Regions from separate parts of the Homo sapiens genome. Here all the other regions are linked to region 2. Evidence: promoter capture Hi-C in 16 types of primary human blood cells and fetal thymus (Javierre and others, 2016). All regions are on one chromosome and are shown on one strand. The core of a region is centred on a gene start or on the middle of the fragment in contact, and the rest is flanking DNA. Distances in the headings are between cores, read along the strand shown. Region 1 overlaps TM4SF18-AS1 (TM4SF18 antisense RNA 1). Region 2 holds the start of GYG1 (glycogenin 1). Region 3 has its middle 2.9 kb from the start of TM4SF18-AS1.

The links. Contacts are between HindIII fragments. The CHiCAGO score rates a contact against its expected background, and 5 or more counts as called.
Region 1: a contact is called between a fragment that was not itself captured here and the fragment with the promoter of GYG1 in region 2, in 1 of 17 cell types (M2 macrophages). The highest score is 6.6, in M2 macrophages.
Region 3: a fragment that was not itself captured here is called in contact with the fragment with the promoter of GYG1 in region 2 in 3 of 17 cell types (M1 macrophages, naive CD8 T cells and total CD8 T cells); the score reaches 6.3 in M1 macrophages.

The regions. Positions count from the first base shown.
Region 1 is chr3:149,297,727-149,301,012 of GRCh38, forward strand. The region is part of intron 1 of TM4SF18-AS1 (TM4SF18 antisense RNA 1); the gene reads left to right. Among named protein-coding and RNA genes, the nearest start is that of TM4SF18-AS1, 15 kb to the left of the region's middle. The HindIII fragment of the contact is 875 bases long and covers 1,493-2,367 here.
Region 2 is chr3:148,989,892-148,993,074 of GRCh38, forward strand. GYG1 (glycogenin 1) reads left to right here and starts at 1,649. Exons shown (of 8, transcript NM_004130.4): 1 at 1,649-1,756. The coding sequence starts at 1,750. RefSeq lists silencers at 1,288-2,337, 2,371-2,665. The HindIII fragment of the contact is 9,660 bases long and covers 1-3,183 here.
Region 3 is chr3:149,280,217-149,283,444 of GRCh38, forward strand. No RefSeq gene overlaps it. Among named protein-coding and RNA genes, the nearest start is that of TM4SF18-AS1, 2.9 kb to the right of the region's middle. The HindIII fragment of the contact is 529 bases long and covers 1,093-1,621 here.

The DNA of each region.
Region 1 (3,286 bases), core at 680-3,179, 310 kb after region 2:
AAGTGGCAGGATGGATAAAAGAAATTGTATTGGGAAAAAAAACTATGTTTTACTTTCTTTGTTCCCTAACTATGAGCTATTCCTACTTCACTATATATGTGAATGATGGTTCTAAAGAGGGAATCAGATCATTCATGTATTCAACATTCAGCAAATATTTGAGACTTCCTGTGCCCCTAGCCTTTTGGCCAATTGCTATTGGCTATATATATGGCCAATATATATTAAAAAGGGGGCCAGTATAATGAGTACAGAGGGTCTGCAATCATGGTGCAGCCACAAGTAAAATATGAGTAGTATTTATGCTTTTCTACACTCTCATATGTATTGCCCAGCTTATTTACTTATTTACCTGTTTACTTATTAAAACCAACCCCCACCTTCAGTGGATGAATATTTGCCAACTCAAATGACAGTAAAAAACGGTGCAGTGGCTCACGCCTGTAATCCCAGCACTTTGGGAGGCTGAGACAGGCAGATGGCTTAAGGCCAGGAGTTTGCGACCAGCCTGGCCAACATGGTGAAAACCAGTCTCTACTGAAATTACAAAAAGTAGCCGGGCATGGTGCCACATGCCTGTAATCCCAGCTACCTCGGAAGGCTGAGGCACGAGAATTGCTTAAACCCAGGAGGCAGAGGTTGCAATGAGCTGAGATTGCACCACTGCACTCCAGCCTGGGTGACAGAGTATGACTCTGCCAAAAAAAAAAAAAAAAAAAAGAGTAGAAGGAATTATAGCCACAGAATTTTCCAGGGCAATTCCAGAGGAGACCCAACAACTGTTAGGGACTATGCCCCTATTGTTAAAATGTCTATATAACCTCTGAGGCTGATGACTTTGAGAACACCTACACTGACTTGAAAATTCACATTCTGGTGTGTTTCTTTCTTTCTTTGAGACAGTGTTAGTTTTACTCTGTCACTTAGGCGAGAGTGCAGTGGTGCGATCATGACTCATTGCAGCCTTGAACTCCTGGGTTCAAGCAATCCTCCCACCTCAGCCTCCCAAGTAGCTGAGAATACAAACATGCACCACCACACCCGGTTAACTTTTCAAATTTTTTTTATAGAGACAAGGTCTTGCTGTGTCGCCCAGGCTGGTCGAGAACTCCTCACCTCAAGTGAACCTCCTGCCTTGGCCTCTCAAAGTGCTGAGTGTGCTTCTACTGAAAACATTTACAGTATGTCATAATCACAACTTTTTAGCATACTGTTAGCTAAAAAATAAAATATAGGCTGACTGCAAAAATTTACTTGCAATTCATCGTTTGGACCTCACAATAACTTTTCTCCATTGAAGCAATGTTGCAAGTGGTTGGTAGATTTCATTTTTGCCTTCCCAATGCCTTTGTAAACCCAAATGTAGACAAAATAGCCAAGGATAATTGCTACTAAAAAATATCCATTTAAAATGAATCCATTGGAAACTGGAAACAAACCAAAATATTGTATTAGGATTTTATCATGAGAAATGAAACCAATCAAGAAAATAAGCTTATTTTATCTTATATTATGTTAAACCCTACTGTGTAAAATTTATTAAAAATGGCACTTATTGTGGCTCAAACCAATATTTAAAACAAATTTGATTACATTTGTAAGTCTTTACCAAATCTTAGAATGAACCAGGAATAAATCAAGTGTTTGGATTTGAATGTTACGATTTTTGTTGACAAAGCTGTAAGAGGGGCACAATATCAAGTCCTTTATTTCACTGTTGATTTTTGCAGTACCTTCACAAATAGGGTTATTTTGCCTAAATATTAGAGGGCACTTCACTTTTTCGAAGGGCATCTCTTAATCTATGCTATTCAAACCATTCTTTTGAGACACATAACCTATCATTACCCCCTTTGCTTTTCTTCAAACATTTACTAGATTCTTATTTGTCAAATCTTTATGTGTGATTTAAGTAGTTCCTCATCACATCTAATCACTTAAATCCTGCTATTTGCATTTAATTGGCATTCTGTTTGCTTCATGAGAGTAACAAATATACTGACACAATAAATATGGAAATATATTTGTATCACATGGGAAGAAATGTTTAAATGGAGACTAATATCATAAGTGGTCACTTCTAAGAAACACTCCATTCTCATGTAATTATATTTATAGTAAAAATCATAGAAGACAATGCAGATACAAATCTGACAACTAAGAAAATTGTAAAAATTATGGAATAGTTTTAAAACTTTTTCCTTGAATGTTGGCTCTTTAAACAAAGAAGCCTTAATCAGAGAAATTTACGCATAAGCATGTGATTCTGAATGAGCCTTTTCAAGGACTTTATGTATGAGTATTTGACTTTTGAGGTTAATAGAATCAATTCTTTAATATGGGTTGAGAAATAAAAATAAAGTCCTAAGCTTCTCCAACTGACTGAACACACCATCTCTTGGCCCAGGGGACTCCAGAGAAACCTTAGAAACTGAGTTCCTGGCCATGATGGGCTAGCAGGTCGAACATGCCTCAGTATGCCCCATTCCTTCTAACCTTTAACCAGAATTCTTTCCTAAGGCGTAAGTAAGCAGAAACCAGCTCTGGAAAATGAGAAATGGATGACTCATTACTTTGTCAACTTTAGCCAGTCCTCTGAGGCTGCCACAGGACTCCCTTTCCCACATTGCAGTTTCAACATGACAGCTCACCAGTTAAACCATAAATCCCTTCCTGATAAGAGACCAACAACCATGAAGTGGTTCTGGCCAATCTATGCAGGGTGCACAGCCAGGGCATTTGTGTCCTCCCCTTCATCTTTTGACATTAGGGGGCTGAAAACTCCACTCTCAGATCATGCTAATGCCACAATTTTTTGTACAGGGAATTCATGAAGAGGCATAAAGCTCAATTGTGAAGCACATGTTTCTCCTTTAATAAATATTCATGACTCCTCCTACAGCCTAATAAAAAGGTATTTTCAGCCACTCTGCTCAGCATAAATTCCCGTTTCTTTCAGCACTACCTTGAAGTGCCTGTTTCTGGCTTCTGGCCAGAGGTTACACTTCCCAGCGTGTCAGAATGGCCACCCTGCAGGTTGCAGCCTTTTGTGAGAAATAAAGCTGTCCTTTCCAAATGTATGAACCTTGTGATTCTTCAGCTGACAGGGTAATTCATCTGAAAAACGTAGTTTTTCTTCTTGGAAGTGGACTTCCAATATCATGATGCTAAAAACATGTCATACTGTAATAAGAGCTGTTTTGTACTTTTACAGAAGGAATTTTTAAAAATTTATTTTTAGTTTTTGTGGGTACATAGTAGGTGTATATATTTGTGGGGTACATGA
Region 2 (3,183 bases), core at 399-2,898:
CCCATGTGATCAGCGGTCTCTAGGCCATGGTCAAGACTAGGAAGGACTCAAGAGAGGCTCCTGGAAGGTGATATTTAAAATACTGATTTTAAGGTTCTACCCTTAAGATTCTTTTTGTTTTGTAACCTGTTTTTCTTCAAATAATATATTTTGAACAGCTTTTTATATTAAAAATATATAATGATTATGCCTACAGAGTATTTCATTACCTCAAGAGTATATGACGCGACTTCAAAAAGTCCATAGAATATACATATTATAAAAAAAAAATGCATGGATTTCAAAATTATTTTGCACCAAAATAAACCTACCCTTAAGATTCTGATTCAGGAGGTCTGGGCTTAGGCCCAAAAATCTACGCTTTAACCAGTGCCCCCAAGTGATTCTGATGTAGGAGATCCACACCCACACACGAGGAAACAGTGATATAACTGGTTTGAGGACAGCAGTACCACCTTTGCAAATAAATCACTTATTCTTAAGCATCTGTTTTGCTTTTTGAACTGATGTCAACTTCCTGATTGGTTTCCAAATGGCTTTGCAGTACTCATTCAACATTTACCGAGCAATTTCAGTTTTCAGTTTGCAGAGAACTGAACTACCCGAGGCTTGTTCTGTGTTTGGACTGGGGATGGGGAGCAGAGAAGGATGTGATCACATTAAAGCTATTTCTCAACTTCCTAGAAAAATGACAAATTGACCATTTCAAGATTTGTGAAACAGGTTAGCATTGGCTAACCACAGTTACAATAATTTACTAACCTTTTTGGAGCCCCTGTGTACAAGAGGCACCAAGACTTTCTGGGTGGGAAGGTTGATTCTGTAACCAAACTGCCAGGGTTTAAATCCTACTTTCTCCATTTATATTATATGACTATAGAAAAGTTAGCACTTTGGGAGGCTAAGGCTGGCAGATCACTTGAGGCCAGGAGTTCCAGACCAGGCTGGCCAACATGGTGAAACTCTGTCTCTACTAAAAATACAAGAAAAAAAAGAAAAGAAAAGTTAATTTAACTTTTCTGAGCTCAGTTTCCTCCTCGTCTGTAAAATGAATATGTAACACCTCACTGAGTTCGTACAAGGATTAAATGAAGCACTTAAATGCCTAATTGATGCAGATGGCTCCAAGAATTTAACATTTACGAAATATTCACTATATTTTTTAGGTTAAGGGTACAAAACCATTGTGAGTACACTAAGGAATGATTATAGAGGCTGATCGAAATTCTGCAAAAAAAGCGTAAATTTTACGTTTCATTCAAGCAGTTCAGACTCACGATTTTAACTAGAGTAATCTGGGGTTTGTTTGCTTGTTTTTTAAGGTTCCCTAACCCTTGGCTTCTTGGGGAGTTTGATGCCGCACTCAGCCCCAAAGTCCCCCTTAACTCCCAGGTTTAGCGGCGACAGGGGGCGCGCGGTTGACAAGGGCAGGCGCCCCGGGGAAGTAGGAGCAGGGGCGCCGGTGAGCCGCAGCCGCAGCGGCAGCCTAGCCCCGAGGGAGGGAGGAGGAGCCGAGGGAGACGCGGGACCCGGAGCCCCGCGGGCCACCGCCCCTGCCGGCCGCGCAGCTGGGAGGATGCGGACGGCAGCGAGAGCGTGCGCGGCCACGTGACGGCCGCTATAAGAGCGCACGGGGCAGACGCTCGGTTCCCCGCCGTGCCTCCTCGCTGGCCGCGCTCCCTCCCGGTGCCGGCTTCTCTGAGTCACCAACCTGAGGCTGCCCCGGCCGCCTGCGCACCCGGCAGCACCATGACAGGTACCGCCGCGCAGCCCGCCGCCGCCAGCCCCGGGACCCCGGCTTCCTGCCCAGCCGCCGCCTCCCTTCTCCTCCGCCCTCAGCCCCGGAGTGTTCCCGGCAGGACGAAACCGCCGCAAAGTTGCTGGCTGGCCGCAGCCGGGCGTGTTTCTGCCTGCGTCAGCTGCCGCCCCGCCGCCCCCCAGAGTGCAGGGATGGGGCAGCCGGGCAGAGCCCGGGCCCTCGGCCGGAGCTCTCGTTCCTGCTTCCGTCTCCTCGTCCTTCCTCTTGCTCTCACGGCGAAGGGCCGGCGGGCGGAGCAGCTGCGGCGGGGCCGTGTGGGGGTGGGGAGCCGGTTCCCCTGGGGGTTCCAGGCGGGAGTCCGGGGCGCAGCGGCATCGTGGGGAGCTGCCCCGGCCTCTGGCGGCCCGGAACCCCAGGAAGCAGGGGCTCCGAGGCGGGGATACTGCGGCCTCCGCCCGGCTCCTCCGCCGCCCGCCCCGGCCCCGGCCGCCACGCTGAGCCTATTTTTAGGCCTTTGGGGCCGGGTTGCGGGAAGCCGGGAGTCGGACTAGCGTCCCCGGGCGCGAGCCCCGTCTGGTGGGAGGGCGCCGGCTTTGGCTTCACTTGTTGCGAGGCGTCCGGGCCACTCCACGAGTTAGCCCCAGCACTGGGAAGCTCCGAGTTAGCTGGTCCTTCCGTGTCATTGAGGCTAATAGCCAGGGTTATTACAGCAGTTGAACTGCCACAAAGATTGCAGGTGTAACCCAGAGTTCAGCCGTCTTTAGGAAGATTAAACTCCTACCCAGCTGTCATTGGTCTTTCTTGGTCATTTGTAATGTTGGCTAGTCTGGTGTTCTAACCTGTGTTCTATCCCTTATTTAATCTTGGAAATCATCCATATCCTTGCTTCCAGAAATCCTTGAATCCTGCTCACCTTATTACATTTTTCTCCATGATCGCCTGGAACCTGGACTTCATTTGAGTTAGATGATCATTCATTTTGCCTAGCTTAAGTATTTTTGGTACAGATTGACAGCGATGTTACCCATGTTATAATGGGCTGAAGATAATAGAAGCAAGTACAGGCGGATGTTGATGGGCCTGTCAAGGGACAGGTGCCACTGTTCAGAGCTTTCCTAGAGTGTGAGTGACTGGGAAGCTGGTGGCCCTTCGGGGGTGGGGAACTGGTCTTCCTACAACTTAGTAGTTGGCCTGCCGTGGGAGAGGGCCTAATAAAATGTGTGAAGATGGCTCTCAGGTCAGCAGCCGAGGGATGCGCTGGCCCACTAGGCAACCCACAACTTCCTCTCATGTCTCGGTGGAATTTCTACTGCTTCCAGCCTCCACCTTGGAAAACGGGCAAGGGAGAATGAGGGAAAGCCAGGTCAGAAAGAGAAGGACTTCATGACAAAATGTCCCAACTCGCTGGTTAAGCAACTGACTCC
Region 3 (3,228 bases), core at 107-2,606, 290 kb after region 2:
AATACCTTGGAGGAAATTTAGATTCCTTCCTGGTTTTTCCATTCCAGAACTGTAAATAAGTTTAAGAAATAAATACAGCAAATAAAAATGTGCATAAGGGACTAGTGATAATAACATCTGTTTGTAAAAAACTCTGCTATATAGAAAATATTTTATAAATGAAAATTATTACCCTATGTAATTTTCCCAACAGTCTCTCCCTTACCCCTGCCCCTTCCTTACATCTGATTTGTAGATAAGAGACCAAAAACTCAAAAGGTCAAGTAACTTGCTGTAGAATGCACATTTCCAAATTGTAGTGCCAGTAGTCAGCTATAGATTACTGGATTCCAAATAAAATTTTCTGTTCTTTTCATACTACCTGTAATAGCAGTGGCTTTAATAGTTTAAGTGTGTAGACTTCTATATTACCTACAAATGCTCAGTTTTTCTCAGAGTATATGGCTCTAATTATATCTTCCAACAAAGCTGATAAATTAGATATAAATGATGTTGGGGCAAGATGGGGAGTTTAAAGACACCATGGAGGATGTCAGTCACTGTTAGATCCATTTCTATTCTTTGTATTACTTCTACCAATAACCACCATTTGTTGAAAGTCAGCTCTTCCTTAGCCCTTTTGTAAATATTAGCTCTAATTGTGCCACCAACTCTGAAAGGGAAGCTTATTAAGTTCTCTTTTATAGATAAGGAAACTGGAACTTGGAGATTTTAAACAACTAACCAAAACAACTAAATGTTATTGCCAGAATTTAAATCCAGGACTTAAAGCCTGGTGGATGCCCTACCATTAAACTCCTTGCCTTATAATCAAGGTTATTCTATGGGAAACTATATACTAGATTAGAAAAATTTGAATAAGTAGAGCAGCTAGCAGCTGGGGCAGAGAGAGTTCCACTTGGGCTGGAGCTCTGAGTCCTTCGCAGTTTAAGGCTATGCAAATTACAAGCTTTCGCAGTATGGGGTAGACTACATAAGACACTGGAGGCCTACAAAGCAAGGCACAGAAGGGAATAGTGGGAAGACACTGAACAGTAAGAAAGAGAAAAGCAGCCCCCCAACATCCAGGAGCTGTCCTGGTACTAGTGGCTAAGCTTTGCCCAACTAGGAGCTGGCCTGGCACTCACAGCTAGGCCCTGGTGTCCTCCTCCTTGGCATAAACAATCTCCCAGAACACCAACATCAGACAGCACCACTCTGTGACCCTAATGGAGCCAGAAGAAAAACAATACCACTCCAGAAAATGTCTGAATATTGTTGATGAAAAGAGTCAAACTCCGTAAAATATTTGAAGACATTTATTCTGAACCAAATATGAGTAACCATGGCCTGTGACACAACCCTTAGGAGGACCTGAGAACATGTGCCCAAGGTGGTTGGGGTGCAGCTTGGTTTTATACCATTTTACGGAGGCATGAGACATCAATCAAATACATTTAAGAAATACATTGGTTTGGTCAGAAAGGCGGGACAATGCCGAGTGGGGGCTTCCAGGCTATAAGTAAATTTAAACATTTTCTGGTTGACAATTGGTTGAATTTGTATAAAGACCTTGGATCAACAGAAAGGCAGGTCTGGGTTAAGATAAAGAATTGTGGAGACCCAAGTTATTTACAGAGGAAGCTTTTAGGTAGTAGGCTTCAGAAACAATAGGTTGTAAAAATGTTTCTTATCAGACTTAAAGTCTGTGTTGGTGTTAATGTTGAGAGGTGTAATGAGGCATGTCCAACCCCCGCTGCCCTTCAAGGCCTGAAACAGTCTCCAGGTAAAATTTTAAAAGAGCCTTGGCTGAGGAGGAAGTCCTTTCAGATGGTTGGGGGACCTTAGAATTTTATTTTTGGTTTACAGTATACATGAGAAACATGAACATTCTCCAAATCTCAAAAATAACCACACATTCCCTGACTATATTTTATGGCTCTAGCTTTGTTTTACTCTTTACCAATTATAGCTTTAGCTTTATTTCATTCTTCTTTTCTTATAGATTACATTTATTAAGATACCCAATCATAAATTTCCCCCACTTTCTCACTGCCTTTGATCCAGAGCAAAGCCCTGCTTCCTTAAACATCCCCCACAAATCACCTAACACAAACCCCAATCATACAATAAGTTCTTTTTAACACTGCTTTTTTTTTCTGAGATACCCCAAGGTTCTGTATCATGTATGTTCTCTCTCAATGCGTTAAGCAACAAACACAACTTGTTCATCTACAGATGTGTTCCTGTGGTTTAGTTGGAGTGCACTGATACTAAAGTCCATGATGTAGGTCAGGGAATCTGTTTCATGGCTTAAAATAGTGCCAACATGACAAAAACTCAGAAATGTGTGTCTCTGGCTTGAACCTCTCTGCCTAACAGTATATACAATAATCTATGCCACATTTCCACTTAGATGGTTAATATAGCAACTTCTTAAATGTTTATGCACAGAAAAATCATCTGGAGATTTTTTTAAAAGGAAAAATCTGTATTCTATAAGTCTGGGTGGGTCTGAAATTCTGCATTTCCTCACTGGCTCGCAGATGATGCCAGTGCTGCAGGTCCATGAACCACACTTTGAGAAGCAAGAGTCTAATGAACTCGTCAAATTCAACATGCCCAAATACCAACCCCTAAGACTTCCAGTTTCAGCTCCAGCATGTAAAGAGCATGGAAGTCATAATCCTTACAACAAGAGAAACTGGACAAAGAAAATCAACAGCTTTTCTTAAACCCATCAGATAATGGAGTTTGTAGGGCAAATCCCCATATCTGAAGAGACAGACAATCTAGAGTCACAGAAGAAATATGCTTACCTAGAGCAGAAGCCACTGGCACAATAAACTGGTAATTTTAACAATTGCTGGAGGCTGAGTTTGGACTGGATAAAAGTCAGCTTAATTAAAAGGCTAACATCCAAGATGTGTGTGTGTGTGTGTATGTGTGCATGTGTGCATGTTTGAAAGGCCTTCATGTTTTTGGTTTTGTTTGTTGGTTTGTTTTTCTCTCCTAAGACCTTGTCTTTTGGAGCAAAAGTTTATTTTTTTTCTTTTTTTTTCTCAGTTAACTGAATTCTGTTTTCACCTGATTTTTTTTTTTTTTTTTTTACTAAACTAGTTATTGCAACAGAATCTACTCTAGGGATTTTAAGGAAGAGTGTAGTTTAATTTTATGTTTAATTTGGCTCAAAGAAAAATAAAAGTGTCTCCTTCTAGCACTGCCAGATTTTTTTCTCTTTCTATTTTA